Regions from separate parts of the Homo sapiens genome. Here all the other regions are linked to region 1. The links are contacts of gene promoters, found by promoter capture Hi-C in blood cells and fetal thymus (Javierre and others, 2016). All regions are on one chromosome and are shown on one strand. The core of a region is centred on a gene start or on the middle of the fragment in contact, and the rest is flanking DNA. Distances in the headings are between cores, read along the strand shown. Region 1 holds the start of ANAPC15 (anaphase promoting complex subunit 15). Region 2 overlaps NUMA1 (nuclear mitotic apparatus protein 1). Region 3 overlaps NUMA1 (nuclear mitotic apparatus protein 1).

What was found. Contacts are between HindIII fragments. The CHiCAGO score rates a contact against its expected background, and 5 or more counts as called.
Region 2: a contact is called between a fragment that was not itself captured here and the fragment with the promoter of ANAPC15 in region 1, in 11 of 17 cell types (naive CD4 T cells, total CD8 T cells, non-activated CD4 T cells and 8 more). The highest score is 13.9, in naive CD4 T cells.
Region 3: a fragment that was not itself captured here is called in contact with the fragment with the promoter of ANAPC15 in region 1 in 9 of 17 cell types (total CD8 T cells, naive CD4 T cells, naive CD8 T cells and 6 more); the score reaches 10.2 in total CD8 T cells.

Annotation. Positions count from the first base shown.
Region 1 is chr11:72,111,445-72,114,642 of GRCh38, reverse strand. ANAPC15 (anaphase promoting complex subunit 15) reads left to right here and starts at 1,948. Exons shown (of 6, transcript NM_014042.3): 1 at 1,948-1,993; 2 at 3,147-3,198. RefSeq lists enhancers at 1,065-1,602, 1,910-1,969, 2,070-2,129, 1,603-2,140, 2,300-2,469 and 1 more and a silencer at 1,722-1,939. The HindIII fragment of the contact is 5,139 bases long and covers 1-3,198 here.
Region 2 is chr11:72,037,614-72,041,036 of GRCh38, reverse strand. All of the region lies in intron 2 of NUMA1 (nuclear mitotic apparatus protein 1), which reads left to right. Among named protein-coding and RNA genes, the nearest start is that of NUMA1-AS1, 25 kb to the right of the region's middle. RefSeq lists enhancers at 1-244, 725-804. The HindIII fragment of the contact is 1,004 bases long and covers 749-1,752 here.
Region 3 is chr11:72,020,729-72,023,815 of GRCh38, reverse strand. It overlaps NUMA1 (nuclear mitotic apparatus protein 1), which reads left to right. Exons shown (of 27, transcript NM_006185.4): 6 at 669-751; 7 at 1,397-1,477; 8 at 2,525-2,612. It overlaps NUMA1-AS1 (NUMA1 antisense RNA 1), which reads right to left. Exons shown (of 4, transcript NR_104178.2): 4 at 2,897-3,087. Among named protein-coding and RNA genes, the nearest start is that of NUMA1-AS1, 8.0 kb to the right of the region's middle. The HindIII fragment of the contact is 768 bases long and covers 1,131-1,898 here.

The sequences.
Region 1 (3,198 bases), core at 699-3,198:
GCTCCCTGTCAAAAAAAAACCAAACCCCTCATCACCTCCCCATTCCTTCCCAACTCAAAAAAGTGGCAACACCAATCTTCTAGTCGTTCAGCCCAAAAATCGTGGCTCCTTTCTTATTCTGGCATTGTCCATCTGTTAGCAAACCTTGTAGTCTCTACCATCTAAATAAATTCAGAATTCAACCACTTCTCATCCACTACCTCTAGATTATCATAATAGGCTCCCAAATGGTCTCCCTGCTTCTGCCATTGTCTCCCCTACCCCAGTCTATTTGGAGAACAGCCAGAGTAACTCAGTTAAACTGTAAATCAGATTGTGTGGACCCTGTGCTCACAACCCTCCACTGGCTCCCCAACTCCTCATCTCCTACCTATTACTCTCCCTAGAGGACACTATGCCCAAGCCATTCTAGGCCCTCTGCACTTGTATTCTCTCTCTCTGAAATGCTCTTCCACAAATATCAGAAGGCTCTCTGCTCCTTCAGACCTTTACTCAAAAGTCACCTTCCCAGTGACTTTGGCCCCCCAGTCTGAAATAAAACACCTCCCCTGCAAATATTTTATTCCCACTTCTCAGATTTATTTTTTCTCTTATTTACTGCAATCTTACAACTACATATTTTATTTATCTATCTTCTTTATTGTTTACCTCTCTCAGAATGAAGGCTGCATGAAAAGAGGGACTTTTTTGGTCTGTTTTGTTTACTATTGTATACCCACTACTAAGAATAGTGATGGACATATACTAAGGCACTCAGTAGGTATTTGTTGAATGAATGAAAAAGGTAGTCATTTCCAAGAGGCAAAGTTTACTCTTTAATGAAAAACTATAACAAACAGTGCTATTTGGCAATATAATCACATTCAATATGCACAGTACACGACCTCTTGAACAATTCTTATCCAATCTTCACATCAGCCCAGGATAGAAGGAAGGCTGGGCAGAGATTATGATGCTGGTTGACAAAGAAGCTGAGTCCAGAGAGAGGAAAAGGAATTGCCAAAACTCACACATCTGGCCAGGACAGTACTGGAAATGCGGATAACTGCTGTCCCTGAAAGAGGCTGGTAAGTGATGGAGTTTAATAGGAATTGGGTTTGAAGGACCTCTGTTGCCAGAAAGCATGAGTATCTCTAAAGGCGAAGCTGAGTCAGAGGTTACTAGAACAGAGGCATCAGCAAAGGATGGGAGAGGTGACGAGGGCGATCTCTAAGTGTACTTGGCCCAGGCCTGAGGAGGGCAGCTGATTCCCCCAGCAACAGAATGCTGTGCCTGAGGCTAACTAGTCATTCAAGTCTGTACATAATCTCCAATGTCAAAACTCAACAAGCAACCTTAAGAGAGACCACTAAGTCTACTGCATGTCTGCAGGGTTTGGCTTCCCTGGACTGTGAGGTCTTCCAGGGAAGCGACCATATTCCTAGATTTATCCCCAGTTTCTAGCAAGGCCTGGAATATAGTAATATTGTAACTCTAATATTTTTGTTCAGAGCAAAAATAAAAAAGAATGAATATGCTCAAACGGGAAACTGTAGCTGAGAGAGCACAGATAGGAGGGGCCTAACATCAACCAGCAATTCTGAAGTAGTAACAGATTAGTTTTCTGGGATGCAGCAGGACGAATGGCCCTCGCACTAAAAGGTTGCTGTCAGCTCTTCTTCAGAAGGGGTTAACAAGCAAATGGTGACTGGCAACAAAAGGGCAGGGGTTAAACGGGGCAGTGGTTAAACGAGACCGTAGTGCTGGCGCCAGGATGGAGACGCCGACTGGCTGAGACTCAAGGCGGGGCAGATAGGTAGGCGCGGCACACTTCCTTCCCTAACAATGTGACTAAGGTAGGTCAACGTCACATCCGGTTTAGTGGGCGGGAGCGGGGAAAACAAAAGGAGACGAAGGACGCATGCGTTTGGTGAGTCCCGGATTCTGGTGGGTTCTTCCGCTCAGGCTGGGTGAAGCGCTTCCGGGTCGCCGCCGGCAGCAGCCTCCCGGCGCGGTAAGTACAGACGCAAGGCTGCAACCGTCTCCTTGCCCCTTCATTCCTTTTTCCCCCAGAGAAACCCATTTCCTTTGACCCGACTCCCCAGGAGCTCCATATTGAGAGTCCTTAACCCTTAAAGAGCTCCAGCTCATTGGCCGCTTCCTCGAGACTAAGCCCCACCCCGTCACACAAGGTCCGTCATTCATTGGTGTCACTTCCTGTCACCCAGCATTTCTTTCAGTTAATTGGTCCTACCCAGGCCCCGCTTTTTTCGCGTTTAGCAACCCTATAAGGCCAAATTTCTGTCTGAGACCCGCCCTGCTTTCTTTCTGTTGGTCAACTGCATGGTCATTATCGTAATGAGCAAAGAAAGGGCGGTGGCTTTGCGACGGTGGGTTGGGCTTTCGGAGCCGAGATCGCTGGTCTGTCAGTACTTCTTGGACATGAGGGTGTTTACCGTCGTGCCTAATTACGCGGGTTGGGAATCTGAGATACAGGGAAGGGCAGCGGCTGGCCCTGGGTCGGTCAGATAAATTAAGACAAAAGCAGGACCAGGCATCGATTATTTTCTCCTGCTCATCCCTTTCACGGAGGAATTCTAAGCCCCGACACACTGTATGACCTAAAGCCAGTCTCTGCCTGTCGCTGGGCCTCAGTTCGCCTGTCCTAAGTTTAATTCAGATTATCTGGCACTCCTGGTCGGCTCCCTCAGCCGCTCAAAGCTGATTGTACCCTTATAATGTTAGTTCATCCATTCAATCTTCCATCTACTTATTTATCCACTTATTCATGCCTCCTAGAATGTCTTACTGAACCCTGCTTGCATATGCTACAATCCCTCCACCCCGACATTTGGCTGTGATTCATGAGAGGTCGTTAGTGTCCTAAATTTCTGACACTGGGTGGGTGTGGTATGGGCCATCATAAAGGGTCAAAAAGCAGGTTTTAGTGTGTGGAGGAGGTAGGGATAGTTTCAGTAGAACCCTGCTACCTCTAATTTTGTATAATTTCATAATGCCAGTCTGCATTCTGGATTCCTATCCCTACACTTGACTCCCATTCTCATCCCTCCTTGAACAGCCTGCAAACAGCTTTGTTGATCCATTATTTACTTAATTATCAGAATAACTTTGACAGTGGTATAATTGTTATTATCCCCATTTTACAGATGAAGACACTGAGGCTCAGAGAGGTTAAGTGACTCAGCCAAGGTCAAACAG
Region 2 (3,423 bases), core at 1-2,500, 73 kb after region 1:
CCCTTCCTCCTCTCCTTTCAAGATTTAAATGCTAATGGCGGATTAAAACCTGTAGATACGTTTGGCTTTAGGAGTCTGGTAAGGCCCCCCCGCACCGAGACTTTTTCTCCCTCACTCTTTCTCTGGGTTTTTGTTCAAACATGGACGAGGGGGTGGGGTGGATTCTCCCCCCTCACCTCCCTTTCCTGCGCCATCCTTAAAGGGGAGGGAGAGAAGAGGGAGAGCAAGTAAACATACTCAGAAACAGGCGCTGTGGAGCAGAGCTTGCCAACATCCGGGAGTTGGCGCCTTTCAGAGCAAAGGGTTGCTTTCTTTCCCCCTTGCGTAGATGTCAGCATGTTTTTGTTCAGAGAAGGAAAGCGTGTTTGCCTGCACGTTGAGCTGTAGAGACAGCTCAGGAGAGGGCTTCACCATTTCTGCGTGAGGCCGTGGGTGTGTGCACGGTGGTGGGCAGTGAAAAAAGGTTCATTTTGTCAGCTGATAGGGACCAGGGTGTGTGAATATAGTGGTGGGGGGCCCAGGTCAGTGTGTGTGTGTGTGTGTGTGTGTGTGTGTGTGTGTGTGTGTGTGTGTGTGTGTGTGTGTGTGTGTATGTGTACGCGCCCCAGTACAATACATGGCTGCAGGCCTGGTTGCAGGTCTGGTTCCTGATTGCAGCTCTTTTGCCATCATCCTGATCTGGACCCTCCAGAGAACGGGGAGAAGGGGCAGACATCTGTAAGCCACTTTTGAAGAAACCAGAGAAGCTTGGTTTCCTCTGTAATCCCTCCCTTGTTCCTCTCCAGGGCTTTGGGGTTCTGTGCCAAACTCTAGGCTACAAAGATGGAGTGGTCTGTGTGAAGAGGAGGCTTCAGCCCAAGCTAGTCCCTTTAGATGGACCAAACTGGTTTGCCCCGACCTCAGGAAACTCTTTGGACTTGGACCAGACGGTCTACCCAGGACTCCCCAGGAATTGAGAAAGATTGTTTTTCTCTGTATGGCGTCTCTTGGAGCCACTGGTCCTCTTGCCTTTTATCTTCTCAGAGGCAGGGGATGTACCAGCAAAGTATTTCCTATGCTGTTTTTATAGCTTATTAGCCTAGGGCAAGGTGGCTTGGCCCCTCTGGGTAACCTGCCAGGTGAGATCTCGGTGTTTGCTTGCATGTGCCTCCTGGCCTATCCGTCCTAGAGTTGGAGGAGGAGGAGCCCCAAGATCAGGGTTTTCACTCTTTGGATGTGAGTGTCTCTCAGATGGGGAGTATCTTTCTAAGAAAGGGGTACAGAGCATGGAATTCTTAGGCTACAGGCAGGCAGCGTCTCAGGGTAAGTGGTGGTAAATTTTGCAAGTGAGCACTGGCGCACAGATGGGGCAGCCATTTCCTTTGTGAGCTGTGAGGCTGTAGGCCTTTGGAACTATCAGGTGGAGAAGGGGGTGGGGTTCTGGGAAGGACCCTTTGAGGTGGGAGCTTGTGTGGGCTTTGGGCCCTGAAATTCTGGGAGTGGGAGTTAGCACTAAGAGAATGAGGGTTCAGCAGAAGCAAGGGCCCATGAGCTGAGAGATCGGTATAGTTTAACAACTCTCTGGGACCAAAGGTCACTTTGGTGTTATCTTGAGGTAGGTCTGGTGTTCCCTTGATGGGCAGTAAGTGGCTAAGAGGCAGTCTCAAAGGAGCTGGCACCCAGGCCAAGGGCGGGGTAAGGAGAGCAGTGCTGCTGCAGCTCAGACCCTCTGGCCTTTGGCCTATCACTTGTTCTGTACTTAAAACTGAAGCTTTTTCAGAACAGACTTCAGAGCTCAGCAACTTGACCCTCTGGTCCTGCTTCTTGTGTCTGAGCAGGTGGTTTACATTAGCCTCAGCCCTGGTAGGAAATCATGGCTAGGCTTTAACTCTTTAAGGTCCAGAGAGGGTACAGGCAGAGTGGCTGCGTGTCTCTTTAGTGTCACTTTCCTTATCTTGATATTTATTTTCTGGAAACAGGGGTTACTGTAAATGTGGGAATTTGTCCTGATGTGGGGGAGCTGCATTGTGTCAGTTTGGGAAATGTAAAAAGGATGCAGGGCCTTAAGTTTATAACGCAACTGCTTCTGTGTCCTTGGTTACTTCTTGAGACCAGGGAAAAGAGAGGGTGCCTTACCAGCTCGGTGAGGCCTCTGTTTTAGATTCTGGGGGAATTTCTTTCTCAGAGAATCAGGTAGATGGGAACTCCAAAGGTGCCCTCAGAGGGCCTGGCCTTTTGTTTCTTTGTTTATTGAGTGAGGGTTGTGGGGGGGACGGGGGGTGCCTGATCCAGCTGGGGTGGATCTCAGCAGATCCTTCTGTGAAATGGTTCCAGGCTACAATCGCAAGGATCTGTTTTTCCATCAGCATCACCCAGTGTACTGGGTGGGGCCTGCCTCAGATTTCAGGGGGAGGGTGGGGAGGATGGTACTCTGGCTGGGAGCCCTTGGGTTCCCAGCCAAAGTCTGCTTAAAGCTATAGTCCCAATGTAGAAGACTTAGCTGTGCTCCTGGCTTCAGTCATTCCTTACCCAGAGAAGAGGGAATGGCTGGGGCTCTCCTGAAGCCTCTCTCACCCTGATGTTCTGTCTCTAGGAAAGTACCTCTTTACAGGCTTAGAACTGAAGAGCAGACAAGGTCCTTCAGGAGTTCCTAGTGGTGAATATTGGGTTCCTCGTATTTCTGTGCCTGGGGAACACAGAAAAGAATATTTAGCCTTGACACTCATTTTCTTGAACAGTGGAACTAGTTTTAGACAGGCTCTCCTGGGAGGACCTCAGGGTTGTATGTTTTGCCTCTGAGATGAAGAGGTTGGTTAAACCTCAGGACATTTTTAGTAGCACAGCTGTGAGTCTTTCAAAGGGGGCAAGATCTGCCTACAGTTGCAGATAAAATTTCGAAGTGTTGGGCCTCATCAAAAGGACTGCAAGTCTATAGGCAGCAGTGAGGATGGGGGAGCGGTGATCTCAGCCTCATTCCTTGTGATTTAATAGCTCAGAGGCCTTTTTTTTAAAGAAACCCCAGTTGAGTGTCTGGCTGTTGCCGCCCCACCACAGAGCCAAGTGTGGTCCCTCGAGCTTTAGTCTTGTCAGCCACAGAAAAGCCTTATTGCAGTGCAGTAGTTGGGGCTATCTGCATCCATCCATGCCTGGCCTCAAGGGCTACATAATCTTGCCCATGGATAGGGTATACTTGATGATAATTATCCAAGACTGAGGAACATAAGCCCCTTAGCTTTTCTGCCCTCCTGAGAGCTCTCTTAACCATTTCATTTGCCCTTGCCAAAGCCCAGGTGAATTGGCTCAATTCCAAGACTGATGCTGGTATGACATGTGGAATCATGTTGGATGTTGCAGGGTCAGGAAGCACTTAATTGTAATTAGCATTTAGTTATATTTAGCATTTAATTATTTTCTTCTGTTAGTGCTTCACATATGTTTAATTTT
Region 3 (3,087 bases), core at 265-2,764, 90 kb after region 1:
TCTGGACATAGGTTCCCTATCTATAATATGGAGATAACTGCTCTTCAAGTGGATGGGTGGATTAAATAAGAACACATGCAAAGCTTCTAGTACAGTGCTTTTCAGTTCCCCTCCCCTTGTCCAGCCTTAGACCACAGAGTCCTCGTCTTTGACATGGGGAGCTAGCTGCCATCTCCACCCCTAGAGAATTATAGGAAAGGTGAGGCTTTATTTAGATAAAGTAAGGTGTTAGTAATTTGAGCCCAGACCCTCGGGCAGTATAAGAGTCACGTATCCCTAGTTGTCCTTTTCTGACTCAGCTATAGGTTTACTCTGTGACCTCAGTTGGAACAGGATTCTAAAGTGACCTGGCATCTCTGGGCTCTTCCTCTGTGGTGCTGAGAGTTGGTGAGTGGGTGGGAGAGTGCAACATCATGACCCAGAGTTGCTGTGAATTCCGAGGCTGCTTTCTTCTTCCATTATCCCTGTAGCCCTTGGATTGACCCAGGATAGAACTGACTTCAGATGGAAAATTGTAAGGCAGGGGAAAGAGGCCATAGGAGTAAGGAGGCCTACATCTCATAGCCCCACCAGAGATAGCCATTCTGCTCCCCAGATTTCAGTGTTCTGGGATCTCAGGTATGGTTTCCAGGAAGTTCACCCTGTTTTCTACGTTGTTGTCATTGCAGAAAATCGAAAACATCCCTCTTCCCCAGAATGCCTGGTATCTGCACAGAAGGTGCTAGAGGGATCAGAGCTGGAACTGGCGAAGGTACCTATGGAATACCAGACTGGGGAGGCAGGGCAGGGTTGGGGTGATGGTACCTGAGGGACCCTGCAGGGCCTTCTCTTAACCCAAGGGGAGATGATGGGTGCTTTATTTCTGGGGCTCTAGTACGTTGGAGGTAGAACCAGGCAGCCACCTGTCTTGAGACAGAGGCTAATTTAGCCCAAGGATTCTAGGAGCCCATGATCTTATGACAGAGATTATGAAACAAACAATGGTTTACTAGACCATTACTGTGGGCCTCGGTGGAGACCTGGCAGAAATCAGGTCTCATTCGGCTATCACCATATTTTTATTATAGCTCAGTCTTAAGTCATTCCCTCTGCTCTTTCTGGGTGCTGGCCTATAGAGGGTACCTAAAGCTTCACACCCAGGGTTCCATGAGTCCAGGAATTGAGCCATGCAGGAATCTTGGCGCTCAGCTTTTTGTACAGTGTACACTATCCTTAATTAAAAAAAAAAAAAAAAAGTGTTTCCTGGAGCTGTTAAGGATGGTGGCCTGGGATTGCTGAATTCCAGGACTTTTAGAAGAGTCACCGGAATAGCTCAGAGTCCCCAGAACAGCCCAGAATGGGGGCACTGAGAAGAGAGACAGCCCCACTCAGTGACTGCCTCCTGTTTGGCTTCTAGATGACCATGCTGCTCTTATACCACTCTACCATGAGCTCCAAAAGTCCCAGGGACTGGGAACAGTTTGAATATAAAATTCAGGTAAGCCCTTGTGCCTCCATGCCACCTAGCAGGCCTAGCCCATGCTTCACCTCACCTGACTTGTTTTTCTTTGAACAGCAGATACTGGACTTTTTAAAAATACAGTTATAGCAATTATTGCCATTCATCATAGAAAGTCTGGGAAACGTTGAAAAGCATGCAGGAGGAAATAACAGTTGCCGATAAACTCATTCCCAGAGTTTGCTAACTTTTTAAAGGATGTACTTTCAAGTCCTTTTTTATGTGCATATGTTTAACTGTAATGTGTTTTAGGATAATACGTAGAAATTATTCTCTGTTCCTATATGTGTTTCTGTGTGTGTGTGTTTTTTTTCCCCCACAGAACTTTCACTTCATTTATCTCATCCTTTCCTCTGGTAGGGTCATCTGGAAGAGGCCAACATAGTTATATATAAAAGCTTCCTGGCCGGGCGTGGTGGCTCACGCCTATAGTCCCAGCACTTTGGGAGGCCGAGACAGGAGGATTGCTTGAGGCCAGGAGTTCAAGATCAGCCTGGGTAACATAGCGAGACCCTGTCTCAACAAAAAATATTTTTTTTAAAAAAAATGAGCTGGGTGTGGCAGTGTGTGTCTGTAGTTCTAGCTACTTGGGGAGCTGAGGAGGAGGAGTTGACTCCAGGAGTTGGAGGTTATAGTGAGCTATGATTGTGCCACTGTACTCCAGCCTGGGTGACAGAGCAAGATCTTGTTTCTTAACAACAATAACAATAAAAGCAACTTTCTGATTGTGTTACTTTCCTTAACAGTCACTTCACTTGTGGTCAGGAGTTAAGTCAGTCAGGAACTCTGACTTCGGTACATCTTGAGGGGAGGTGGGAGGGAAGGGGACAAGTGGGGTGAACATATCTCTAGTTGAATGTTGTTGGCTGGGTCATAGGACCTCAGCTCTGAGAGGGAGAATGGGATCCAGCAGGCTCCTAGGGCATGAGGGAGCCGGGGACTGGCACTGCCAGGGTGGAGCTCCTGGCAGCCATCCCTTCAGAGGCCTAACACCTAAGTGATGCTCTTTTTCTCCCTGTGGCCCAGGCTGAGTTGGCTGTCATTCTTAAATTTGTGCTGGACCATGAGGACGGGCTAAACCTTAATGAGGACCTAGAGAACTTCCTACAGAAAGGTAAGTAGGTACACACTCCTGAGAATCCCCTCATCTCTGAAATGGGGAATACTAGGATCCTGAGTTGTCAAGTATGGTGGGGGTTTGTTTCTGTCCCCAACACAAGGCAGAGTTGATGCTCAGGAAAAGTGTGTGTAATGGAGTAGGTCGATTTCTGGGCCATGTTGTATCATCTCAGTTCCTATGGAGCTCCTCCTTGCTGCCTGGCAGCAGTTATGTAGGATATTTACAAGTGATCATACCTACTTTTGTTTTTTATTTTTTAAACAATCATTACTCTAGGCTTAGAAGCTGAGAATACAGTCTTTTTATTTTTATTTTTATTTTTTTTTGAGACAGAGTCTCTCTCTGTCGCCCAGGCTGGAGTGTAGTGGTGCGATCTCAGCTCACTGCAATCTCCACTTCCCGTGTTCAAGCAATTCTCCTGCTTAGCCTCCCGAGTAGCTGGGATTACAGGCGCATGCCACCACACCTG